Linked DNA regions of Homo sapiens: all the other regions are linked to region 3. Evidence: promoter capture Hi-C in 16 types of primary human blood cells and fetal thymus (Javierre and others, 2016). All regions are on one chromosome and are shown on one strand. The core of a region is centred on a gene start or on the middle of the fragment in contact, and the rest is flanking DNA. Distances in the headings are between cores, read along the strand shown. Region 1 overlaps ADAM7 (ADAM metallopeptidase domain 7). Region 2 overlaps ADAMDEC1 (ADAM like decysin 1). Region 3 holds the start of STC1 (stanniocalcin 1).

What was found. The method cuts DNA at HindIII sites, captures the fragments that hold promoters and counts their contacts. A CHiCAGO score of 5 or more calls a contact.
Region 1: a contact is called between a fragment that was not itself captured here and the fragment with the promoter of STC1 in region 3, in 4 of 17 cell types (total B cells, naive B cells, M2 macrophages and 1 more). The highest score is 8.7, in total B cells.
Region 2: a contact is called between a fragment that was not itself captured here and the fragment with the promoter of STC1 in region 3, in 3 of 17 cell types (naive B cells, total B cells and endothelial precursors). The highest score is 9.0, in naive B cells.

Annotation. Positions count from the first base shown.
Region 1 is chr8:24,443,630-24,447,005 of GRCh38, reverse strand. All of the region lies in intron 2 of ADAM7 (ADAM metallopeptidase domain 7), which reads right to left. All of the region lies in intron 1 of ADAM7-AS1 (ADAM7, ADAMDEC1 and ADAM28 antisense RNA 1), which reads left to right. Among named protein-coding and RNA genes, the nearest start is that of ADAM7, 4.3 kb to the right of the region's middle. The HindIII fragment of the contact is 2,438 bases long and covers 527-2,964 here.
Region 2 is chr8:24,393,834-24,397,041 of GRCh38, reverse strand. ADAMDEC1 (ADAM like decysin 1) reads right to left here. Exons shown (of 14, transcript NM_014479.3): 4 at 2,895-2,973; 5 at 1,246-1,322. The region is part of intron 1 of ADAM7-AS1 (ADAM7, ADAMDEC1 and ADAM28 antisense RNA 1); the gene reads left to right. Among named protein-coding and RNA genes, the nearest start is that of ADAMDEC1, 11 kb to the right of the region's middle. The HindIII fragment of the contact is 1,458 bases long and covers 1,211-2,668 here.
Region 3 is chr8:23,852,654-23,856,156 of GRCh38, reverse strand. STC1 (stanniocalcin 1) reads left to right here and starts at 1,351. Exons shown (of 4, transcript NM_003155.3): 1 at 1,351-1,751. The coding sequence starts at 1,634. The HindIII fragment of the contact is 2,191 bases long and covers 1-1,527 here.

The sequences.
Region 1 (3,376 bases), core at 496-2,995, 590 kb before region 3:
AACCTCATTCTAGTTATATTTTAGAACTAGATTTCTTCTAGTTATATTAGAATAAAATATAAATATAGTTATTCTTTTATATTATAGTTTATATTATTAGTTATATTACAACTATTTATATTATAACATAGCATGTTATAATATAGTTTAATATAATATAATATAGCATATTATATATAGTTTCTAGTTATACAATTAAATGGAAAATGCAGATTCTCTCCTCATCCAAGGATACACCATTTACCATATGTCCATGTAGCAGCTCTATACACAGATATCCTGTTCACGCATTTTTAAAGCGATTTTTATACATACTGTTTTTTCGTCTACTTTGCACTCAATGATAAATCATGACTATTTCCTATTTTAATAAATTTTTTATAGTATGTGTCTTTAGGCAGCTAAGCACAATGTGAGTGAAACTTCATTTATTTAATCTATATTTACTATGAGAAATTTGGTTTGGGGTATTCCCTGTCGTTGGACAGAGCTGCATTTTCAATGACATGAAAAAAAATGTAAAGCTTTTATAACTATTGCCAAACTATCATGAAGAAAGGAAGTGGTCATGTTTAGAACCTCACCATCAATTTATAGCAGTTTCTGTTTCCTTGCCTTCTTACCAATAATAGATATTATGATTAATACAAATATTTTAAACAATGAAATGATGACTTATTGTGATAAATTGTTTTCCTGGATGATCATTCACATCAATATTTTTCCTTTATTTATTTAGTTATTTGTAGTTTTCATATGGATTCTGATTCATGCCCTTTCACCAGTTTCTTTTGTGGTATTTTATTTCTTCATGCTTCTTAAAAATTCTCTATAATTTAAGATTCACAGTTGTTGGTCATACATGTTGCACATTACTTTGAGATGACTGTTCATTCATTTATTCAATGACTACTATTTCAGGCACAGAGATAATATGGAAAATACAATGGTGTAGACGGTGGAGGTCTCTGCCCTCATGGAAGTCCCTGCTTGGCAGAGAAAAACACTGGATAACCAAGCACACATAGTGGAGTGTAATGAGCATCATAATAGGAGAAATGCAAGGACTGTGCCAGGGATATTACAAGGAGAAGTCAGGGGCAGGGAACAGCACATGCCAAGGCTCTGAGCCAGGAAGGAACATGACACATTTGAAGAACAGACAGAGGTTCAATATTACTGGAAAATCAGGTGTAAGTTGAATAGAAATGAAATGACAAAGTGGGAAGGAGTAAATCATGTTCAACCTAGTAAGTCAAAGATTTGGGCCTTATCCTATGAACAAAGAGAAGCAAAATATCTAGGCAGAAACATGCCATAGCAAGCATGGTGTTTTAGTACTTTACTTCTTGTAGATAATGGATTAGCAAAACTCAGTACTATAGCCAGGAAAACCATTTAAGGCTGTTGATGAATGCAGATGATTTGAGCAGAGGAGTAAGCAGTAGATAACTTTAAAAGACATTTACATGCTAGAATCTACAAGCCTCAGTGATAGTCAGATGGAGTAAGAGAGAGTAGTCAAGACTAAGCCCAGATTTCTGATTTGTTTAACTTGTAGAGCTGTGCTACTATAGCAAGGAGGATCTGAAGAGGGTCAGCTATGAGGTTGGGAAGGAGAGTTTTGTGTTTATTCAATGTTAAGTGTGCATTAGTTAAGGTTGTTTTGACTGCAAGTTGAACAATAAAATTACAGCTTTATCATAAAGACACAGAATCCCCACGTGGGAGGCCAAGAAACTAGGGTGGGTACTTAATCAGATAGAAAGGGTTTGGTCACATTTTGCAACATGATGAGTTGTATGTGTAGAGGTGTGTATGTGTGTGTGTCTGCATGTATGTGTACATGCATGTATGGGTGTAATGGTGGCAATGGAACTTTTTTGGAAATTCAGATATGGATTTTATATTAACAAATATTAGAAGATTTTTAATATTGTCAATATTGTTAATAGGATATTTTAAATTGTGTCATTAATACTGTTTTTAATAACAATTTGGTTTTTAATTTTTATTTTGGAATCATTTTAGATTTACAGAAAAGTTGGAAAGATAGTACAGAGTTTCCATATACTCTGCACTCAGGTTTCCCTGTTTATTAGCATCTGACATTACTATAGTCTATTTGTCACAACGAATAAGCCCAGATTCATAAACTACTATTAATTATAGTTATTCAGGTCTTCTTAGTTTTTCCCTGATGTGCTTTAACTCTTTCAGGATCTGATCCCAGATTCCACACTACGTTTAGTTGTCAGGTCTCCTTAGCCTCCTGAAGTCTCACAGTTTCTCAGGTTTTTTCGTTTTTTTGTGTTTTTTTTTTTACGATCTGGACCTTTATGGGGAGTATCTGTCAAGCATTTTGTAGGGCGTCTTACAATTTGTTTTTGTTCTGATATTTTTCTCATGCTTAGACTGATGTTACAGATTTTGAGGTGAGAGCCATAATAGAAAATGCCATTTTATTACACCCTACTAGCCACAGGACTTAGCAAGTGTTAAACCTGATCACGTGGCTGAGGTGGTGTTTTCATCTTTCTCTCTGTAAAATGACTCTTTCCCCCCTTCAGTATGGTACTTCCTGGAAGGAAGTCACAATCTACAACCCACACTTAATGGGTGGGGATTTAGGTTCCACCCCCTGGAGAGGACAGCATCTACATAAATTATTTGATTCCTCTCCCAGAAGAAGTGTCCATTTTTTCAATTTATTTATTTAATTTATTTATTTATTTATTATATATTATTTATTCAGTCATTTATTTATATCAGTATGGGCTCATGATATTTATTTACACTTCATGTCATAATACAAAGCTGTTATTTATTTTGTTCTTCACATTATCCCAGCTTTGGCCATCGGGAGCTCTTTCTGTTGGCTTCTGAATTCTTTTGACAAGACCCCTTCAATGTGGTTTGAATTTTGTTTTGTCTGTTTGAGCATATTCTGGTATACAAGAAGCTTTAGGTTCATTGTTTATATTCCTTGCCCTTATCCAAGCTTATCTGGTATATTCATAATGATATTTTTATTTTATTTTATTTTATTTTATTTTATTTTATTTTTATTTTTTGAGAGAGTCTTGCTCTGTTGCCCAGGCTGGAGCACAGTGGCATGATCTTGGCTCACTGCAACCTCTGCCTCCTGGGTTCAAGCGATTCACCTCAGCCTCCGGAGTAGCTGGGATTACAGGTGCACACCACCATGCCTGGCTAATTTTTGTATTTTTAGTAGAGATGGGGTTTCACCATGTTGGCCAGGCTGGTCTTGAACTCCTGGCCTCACGTGATCTGCCCTCCTCGGCCTCCCAAAGTGCTGGGGTTACAGGCATGAGCCACTGCACCCAGCCATAATGAGATTTTTAACATCAGTCTT
Region 2 (3,208 bases), core at 690-3,189, 540 kb before region 3:
AGCAACCCCAAAGAATTTGGAATTTGCACCGTGGTAAATATTTTTCCATAGTTTATTGATTCATTTAACAAATATTTCATGGCAGATCCTAGGACTATAATGGAAAATGGAGTAAGGGAATGTTTAGATAGCAAGAACCCCAGAGGGGAACATGAATGATCAGCAGGCCAACCAGAGTAACACGTTGGGATTAGAAGTAGCTTAAAGAATCCCTCTTTCTATAATCACAATAGTATGATAATTAGTTCATAAATAGAAGGTGAATCCATATAATAAAATATTACAATCCAACTTAACTGTTCAAAATTATATCCCTGAAGGTATTTTATGATATGTGAAGAACTTGTCGTGTGTGTTATCAGCCATGTTGGAAGAACAATGTGGTTTTTTTTTTATTTCAATGCTGTGAAAGATACATTTGTCTATATGTGCACATAAGGGTGCAAACATGACAAAATGTTAATAACAGTGATTACTCAGAGGTCAACTTTTGTGGTAGTTGTTACCTTCTTTTTCTTTTTTTTTGTTTTGAGACGGAGTCTCGCTCTGTCGCCCAAGCTAGAGTGCAGTGGAGCTATCTTGGCTCATTGCAAGCTCCGCCTCCTGGGTTCATGCCATTCTCCTGCCTCAGCCTCCGGAGTAGCTGGGACTACAGGCGCCAGCCACCACACTCGGCTATTTTTTTTTGTATTTTTAGTAGAGATGGGGTTTCACCGTGTTAGCCAGGATGGTCTCAATCTTCTGACCTCCTGATCTGCCCGCCTCGCCCTCCCAAAGTGCTGGGATTACAGGCGTGAGCCACCGCACCCGGCCTGTTATTTTCTTATTTGTGCTTTTTCTTACTTTCCAAACTTTCTCTCATTGGCAATAATTATCTACGTAAACAGAAACACATATAATTCTAAAATTAAGTTCAACTGTGACCATTGCAGGGAAGAATGTTTTAGAAAACAGGAAGTAACTGTTTCAGAGAGTAGGTTGGATAAACACAGAAGTGGATCCAGATATCATCAAGGTCCAGAGTGTAGCATTCTTGTTTTACATTGCTAGGCCTGACTTCTCCTAGAGCAGCAGATTATGAAATGATTGTCAGGGTAATACTTTGTTCTTCACTTTAACCACATATATTCAGCATTTCAGCAATGAAAAATTTACCAAAATAGTAAGAAGACAATATCTAGTAGCCCTTAATTCTGTGTAACAAAAAGCTTCTTGATCTTGAGTAATTTTGATGGTAGTTCTTACCTCAACCCGTCACAAGTACTGATGCTGGCAACAGAATTCTTTTCATTTAGGATGTTTCCTTTATAGTAACAGTGTTCCTGGAGTGGAAAAAAGAAATTATGCTTCAGAAATGTGTGTGTGTGTGTGTATGTGAGTGTGTGTGTAATGTATAAACTATGAGAATACATGTATCACAGTTGTGAGGAAAGCTACCATCTTGAATATGTAAAAATTCTTCAAGTAGTGACTGTGGCCAGACCAATCCTCAGAAACACAAACAGCAAGAACCTCAGAGGTTTTCAGAATTGCTTCACTGGAAACTCTCTATATTTGGTGGCTGAACTGTTTTTCTGACATTAATTTACACTAAGGAGGAGTCCAGGGAAGTTAAACCTAGGTGGGCTCATAGTGAAAGTGGATGCTTTCTCTGAGAAGTAGCCAGTCCTCTTGGGATGTACAGTACTCCCAGTGGGTCCTCAGGTTTGGGGGTCAGTGCTCAAGAATTTGGCTTCACTGTGCTGAGTGCCAAAGGCACTGTGCATTACAAATAAGTAAAATGAGACATCTATTTTTCTAGACTGGGGAATCCCAGATATTTCACACTATCACTCCTGAGCTCCTCAGACTAACTGATTTAATCACTGTTTTAATTGGTCTGTTAGTGGAATCCCTTTATCAGCCTCAAAGACACAAAATTATTTGTCTACAATTAGAGATTCAGACATGATTGTTGGCCCACATCAGCAAAGTTAAGGGGCCACTTACGTGGAGTGATCTAAAAAAGGTAGTGAAAAAACTCCAGTGCAAAATAAATTGACCTGCCTCAGGTTATGAAATTCCATCTATGGTCTTTTCTCCCTTTTTGGAAGAGATATCGTCAACATAAACATTTTCTCATAGAAGACTTGAGAAGATTCCTCATTAATGTATCATCAGCTATTAACAATTGAGCATAAATTAATTTATCAGACACTGTCCGCTGAAGATAGTGTTAGCAAAAATTCAGATGTTCATGAAATAAGTTTTAATGAGCATGGGGAACAAAGAACCATTCTGTGGCAGAAGTCTTTTTTTTTATATAGAGAAATGCAGGTTTAGGGTACCTTGTAGGATGGCTCTGAGAAGCTGTCTTAGCCTGGGAACATGAACATCTCTTGATTGAGATTTATTGTATTCTCTTCATGATATTCTATGCCATGATTCTTAATGTCTGACATTTGGCCCTGGTATTGTCTACGGGATGATGATTTAATCAGATATAAAAATATTAATTATTGATATTTCATTGCTGACCTCAGGATAAATGCATGTATCTCCAAAAAATAGTAAATAGTGACAAGAGGTTTTAAGTACGTATAGAGAAGAACTTTTCTAACCTATGGATAAAATGGTCTAGGGAGAAGTGGACTTTTGGTTGCTTCCAAAAATGTGACACTTGGAAGCTTTCTGCTGCTCCTATGTTTTAAAAGCTGAATGTGATTTTCCAAACTGTTGTCTCATTGATCATAGATAAGCAACTTGCTTTCAAGTCCTTTGATTATTTTTTGAAGCTGTTCATGGACCTATGAATTTTATAAAATAATTGAGCCCTTTGGAGATCTTAGTTAACATTAGCACAAACTAATAACATCTAAAACTCAAAAGAGACCCACAAAGTATTCGGACCCTACCATGTTCTCAGGTTTCGTGGTAATTTCCTCTCCTCTGGGTGAGTACAATGTTTCAGTGTAGTCTGGCCCCAGGAGGTGCCTGTAGAGAGCAGAGAGCTGCATGGACCACTCAGGATGGTAAGAAAGGCAGAACTTCCTGAACTTCAGCACTAAAATAGTGATAGTGTCTACAATGATAAATAGCTAAGGTTCTGACCTACTAATCCTCTTCCAACATTGGAGCTCTGTTGCTGAAGCAAATCAGAGAGTTGGTTCTTCCTATTAAATCCGAGGGAGGAAGTCCCCTCATCTTCTTCCCATCTGCAGATCCCTAT
Region 3 (3,503 bases), core at 102-2,601:
TGCAAGATTATCCTGCCCAAATCTGTATGAATCACCAGTGGCCATTTCTCATCTACTTCCCCAAAATTATTAAAGGTTTTATTGTATAATACCTTCACCACCTTCCTACCCTAAGAAGTCCTCTTCTGGCTCATTAACCTCCTTCACATGTTGGGGACAAACCTCAGCATTGCCTACAACTCACTTATAAGAAAATATAAGTTTCTATACCAGGCATGATTTGTGATTGCAGTGCAATTTTCCTATTAAGTCTAGAGCTTATCATTCTTCTCTCCTACACATTCTGGTCTTTCTCTACCCCTTCTTTCCATTCTGCCCCCTTTTTTCCTACCCCTCTCCCCAAGAAATGAACTGGTTTCCATTCAGCAGGTTTAGTCTTGCTTTGGCCAGCTTATTGTTTCAAAGTGGTTATAAAGTTGCTGGGCTTGAACACAGATTATTAATTTTCAGGCATTCATGATGTCTCCCTGTTGAGTGTGGTATGTGCAGGTGTGCACATGTGTACCTGGGGTAACTAACACTCCTGGACTATGCAATTTTGCTGGTGACTGAAAAGATGAAGTCAAAGTTGATTTGATTATTGAAGAATCACATTATTTTAGAGGTATACAGAATGTCAGAGTCCAACTTTGGCGTTTTACAGATGGGAAAACGAGGTGGGGCAAGGTAAAAAGACTTAGCCAGAGTCATAGGTTGATCAGTAGGGGGACTAAGGCTTCAGCTCTGAGCTGTCATATCTCAGTCCCCCAAGGCTTTTCCACTCACATAAATTCCCCCTCAAGGGCTCAAATGTGTGAGTGAGAACCCAGGATGTCCACATACAAACAAAAATGCATCATAGACATGTGAACATGTACACACAGAGAAGATAGGGAGTTATTGCATTTGTAGCCTACAAAACAGAACCGAGAATGTGCTGTTAAAATTAGAGTAAAACTGCTGTAAGCAGGTTAAGTTCTCATCTAAAGAGATCACATTTCCCCACCATACCCCTGCTATCCATTTCCCCCAAGTGGCTCATTAGAAAAAAAGATGGCTAGATTTCAAAAAGCAACTTGGAGAGATTTCTATAGGATTTTTCTTTAGTTCAATCAATACAGAGTTATCTCTTACTTCCACGAAAATAGCTTTTTCACACATCTCTGCACACACAGTCACACACACATATAAAACATTGGCAGCAGGTACTTTTAATTTGCTGGAAAATATTTCTAAGAAGTCAAAAAGCTCCAGCTGAATTGCATGCCCTCTTATTGGCTCACCAGACCAGTTGAGGGACCTGATTGGTCCTTGATCCTGAGGACCGATAAGAACGGCTATAAAATCCCTGGGTGCAGCTCTTGGGCCCCCAGTTTGCAAAAGCCAGAGGTGCAAGAAGCAGCGACTGCAGCAGCAGCAGCAGCAGCGGCGGTGGCAGCAGCAGCAGCAGCGGCGGCAGCAGCAGCAGCAGCGGAGGCACCGGTGGCAGCAGCAGCATCACCAGCAACAACAACAAAAAAAAATCCTCATCAAATCCTCACCTAAGCTTTCAGTGTATCCAGATCCACATCTTCACTCAAGCCAGGAGAGGGAAAGAGGAAAGGGGGGCAGGAAAAAAAAAAAACCCAACAACTTAGCGGAAACTTCTCAGAGAATGCTCCAAAACTCAGCAGTGCTTCTGGTGCTGGTGATCAGTGCTTCTGCAACCCATGAGGCGGAGCAGAATGACTCTGTGAGCCCCAGGAAATCCCGAGTGGCGGCTCAAAACTCAGGTAAGCAGCAAACCCAAGAGCGGTTTCTCCCCCAAAGAGCTGTCCTCATTTGCCTCTCCCTTTTGCAACTGTGTCTGTGACGGCTGATCTTGATAATAAATGTGCTTCATGCCTGATGGCAATAAACTGCCAGTGTAATCCAATAGCCTTAGGCAGTGGAGCTCCTTTGTTTAATAAATTGCATGCAACTAAACGAAGAAGCTGGACGCTCTGCTGAGGGTATTTCATTGCATAAGCCTAGCCTGATTGCCTGAAATCTGGCACGTACCCTCTTGGAGGGGGAGGGGTGAGAGGGGAGGAAAGGCTTGAATGTTGGCATGCTTCAAAGCGCTCTCTATACTTTCCAGAAGCTGATCTAAGGTAAGACCTGGCTTGTTTGATGCTGTCCCTCTTCCTTTCCTCTTAAGACTCTACCTCTTCACTTCTTGACTTCTCTACCTAAGAGAATACACAGAAAAGCTCCCTCTTCAGACTGATTTTCAGAACCATAGCCCTCAAGTCTGACAAATCCAGGGCGGATTCAGAGAAAACCCTATACATCCCACCCCCAACCCTGCTGCCTGTCTCCCTCCTGGCTCTGTAGGGCTCCATTCAGTCGTCCCTGCAGCCCGTAGCCAGAGAGCCCCTAGAAAAAAAAAATTGTGAAACGTAGCAGCTGTTTCTCCAAGGGTAAGGTCTCACTTTCGTCTTGACTCTTGGAGCAGTTAATTGTGCATTATCTTGGCTTCTGAAGGAAAAGAATCATTAGGAAGCCTGCATTGACACCTCTGCCTCTTGACTTCTCTGGCTCCACTTGTTCCCCTTCCAATACTGCCCTCTGTCCTCCAACTGTCAGCAAAGACCGGATCACAGGTGTCAAAATGCTGCAGATGATGATCCCCTTGGAAGAGCACAGGTCCCTGCCGAGAGGAGGGCTTTTGCTTCACTTCCTTTTGTACTTAGTTGCTATAGAGATGCAGTGATTCACAATTCGAGCTTGCCTAAAACAATAGCAGCCCTAATGCATATTAAAACTGCTTAAAGCAAAGTTATAATTTAAACCCGTGGAAATATATAATTAGGGAAATGACTTGTAACATCCTAGAGGCTGCGGGTGGTGGGAGGGGGTGGGGAAGACTAACTGAACCATGCTTTTGATCTCAGAGGAGAATCCTATGGCATGAAGGCTGCAGATCATTCCTTGCCTAGCTGCCTGCCAGAACACCCCCCTTCTGTGGGAGAAAAATTACTTTTATGGGAGATCTTATCCAGAATGTAGAAAGCCTCATGCAAGTTTTTTGCGGTTTTCTTCCAGTCTTGCATAGGGAGGCCTTGGCCTGGTTATTCCACACCTGTGTTTCTTCTTTCTTTCTTTCTTTCTTTCTTTCTTTTTTAAAAGGCTTTTAATATGAAAGAGATTATGCATACCTCTAAGCACTGTCCTAGTGGAGGGTTGGGGTGAAACATGAACGGATCAGATTTCTTTTTGCCAATATGACGGTAAGTTAAAAGCCTGAAATCAGAAGGGTCTCCAAGTGGACTCCTGGCACAGTCTTCTCTGCCATTTAGACTAAAATCCCATGCTTTTTACTCGGGAGTGCATTTTTCCAAAGCTAGATGGATTCCCTGGCCCTTTTACCTCTTAAACCTGACCACTAGCCACTGTCTCCTTCCTTCCCATGCTTTCAAGTGCTAAGCAATGACCTTTGATTCTATGGAATGGCTTAAAGGCACTGTGCATTTCCAGACTTGAGCCTCACTTCTCCAGACACC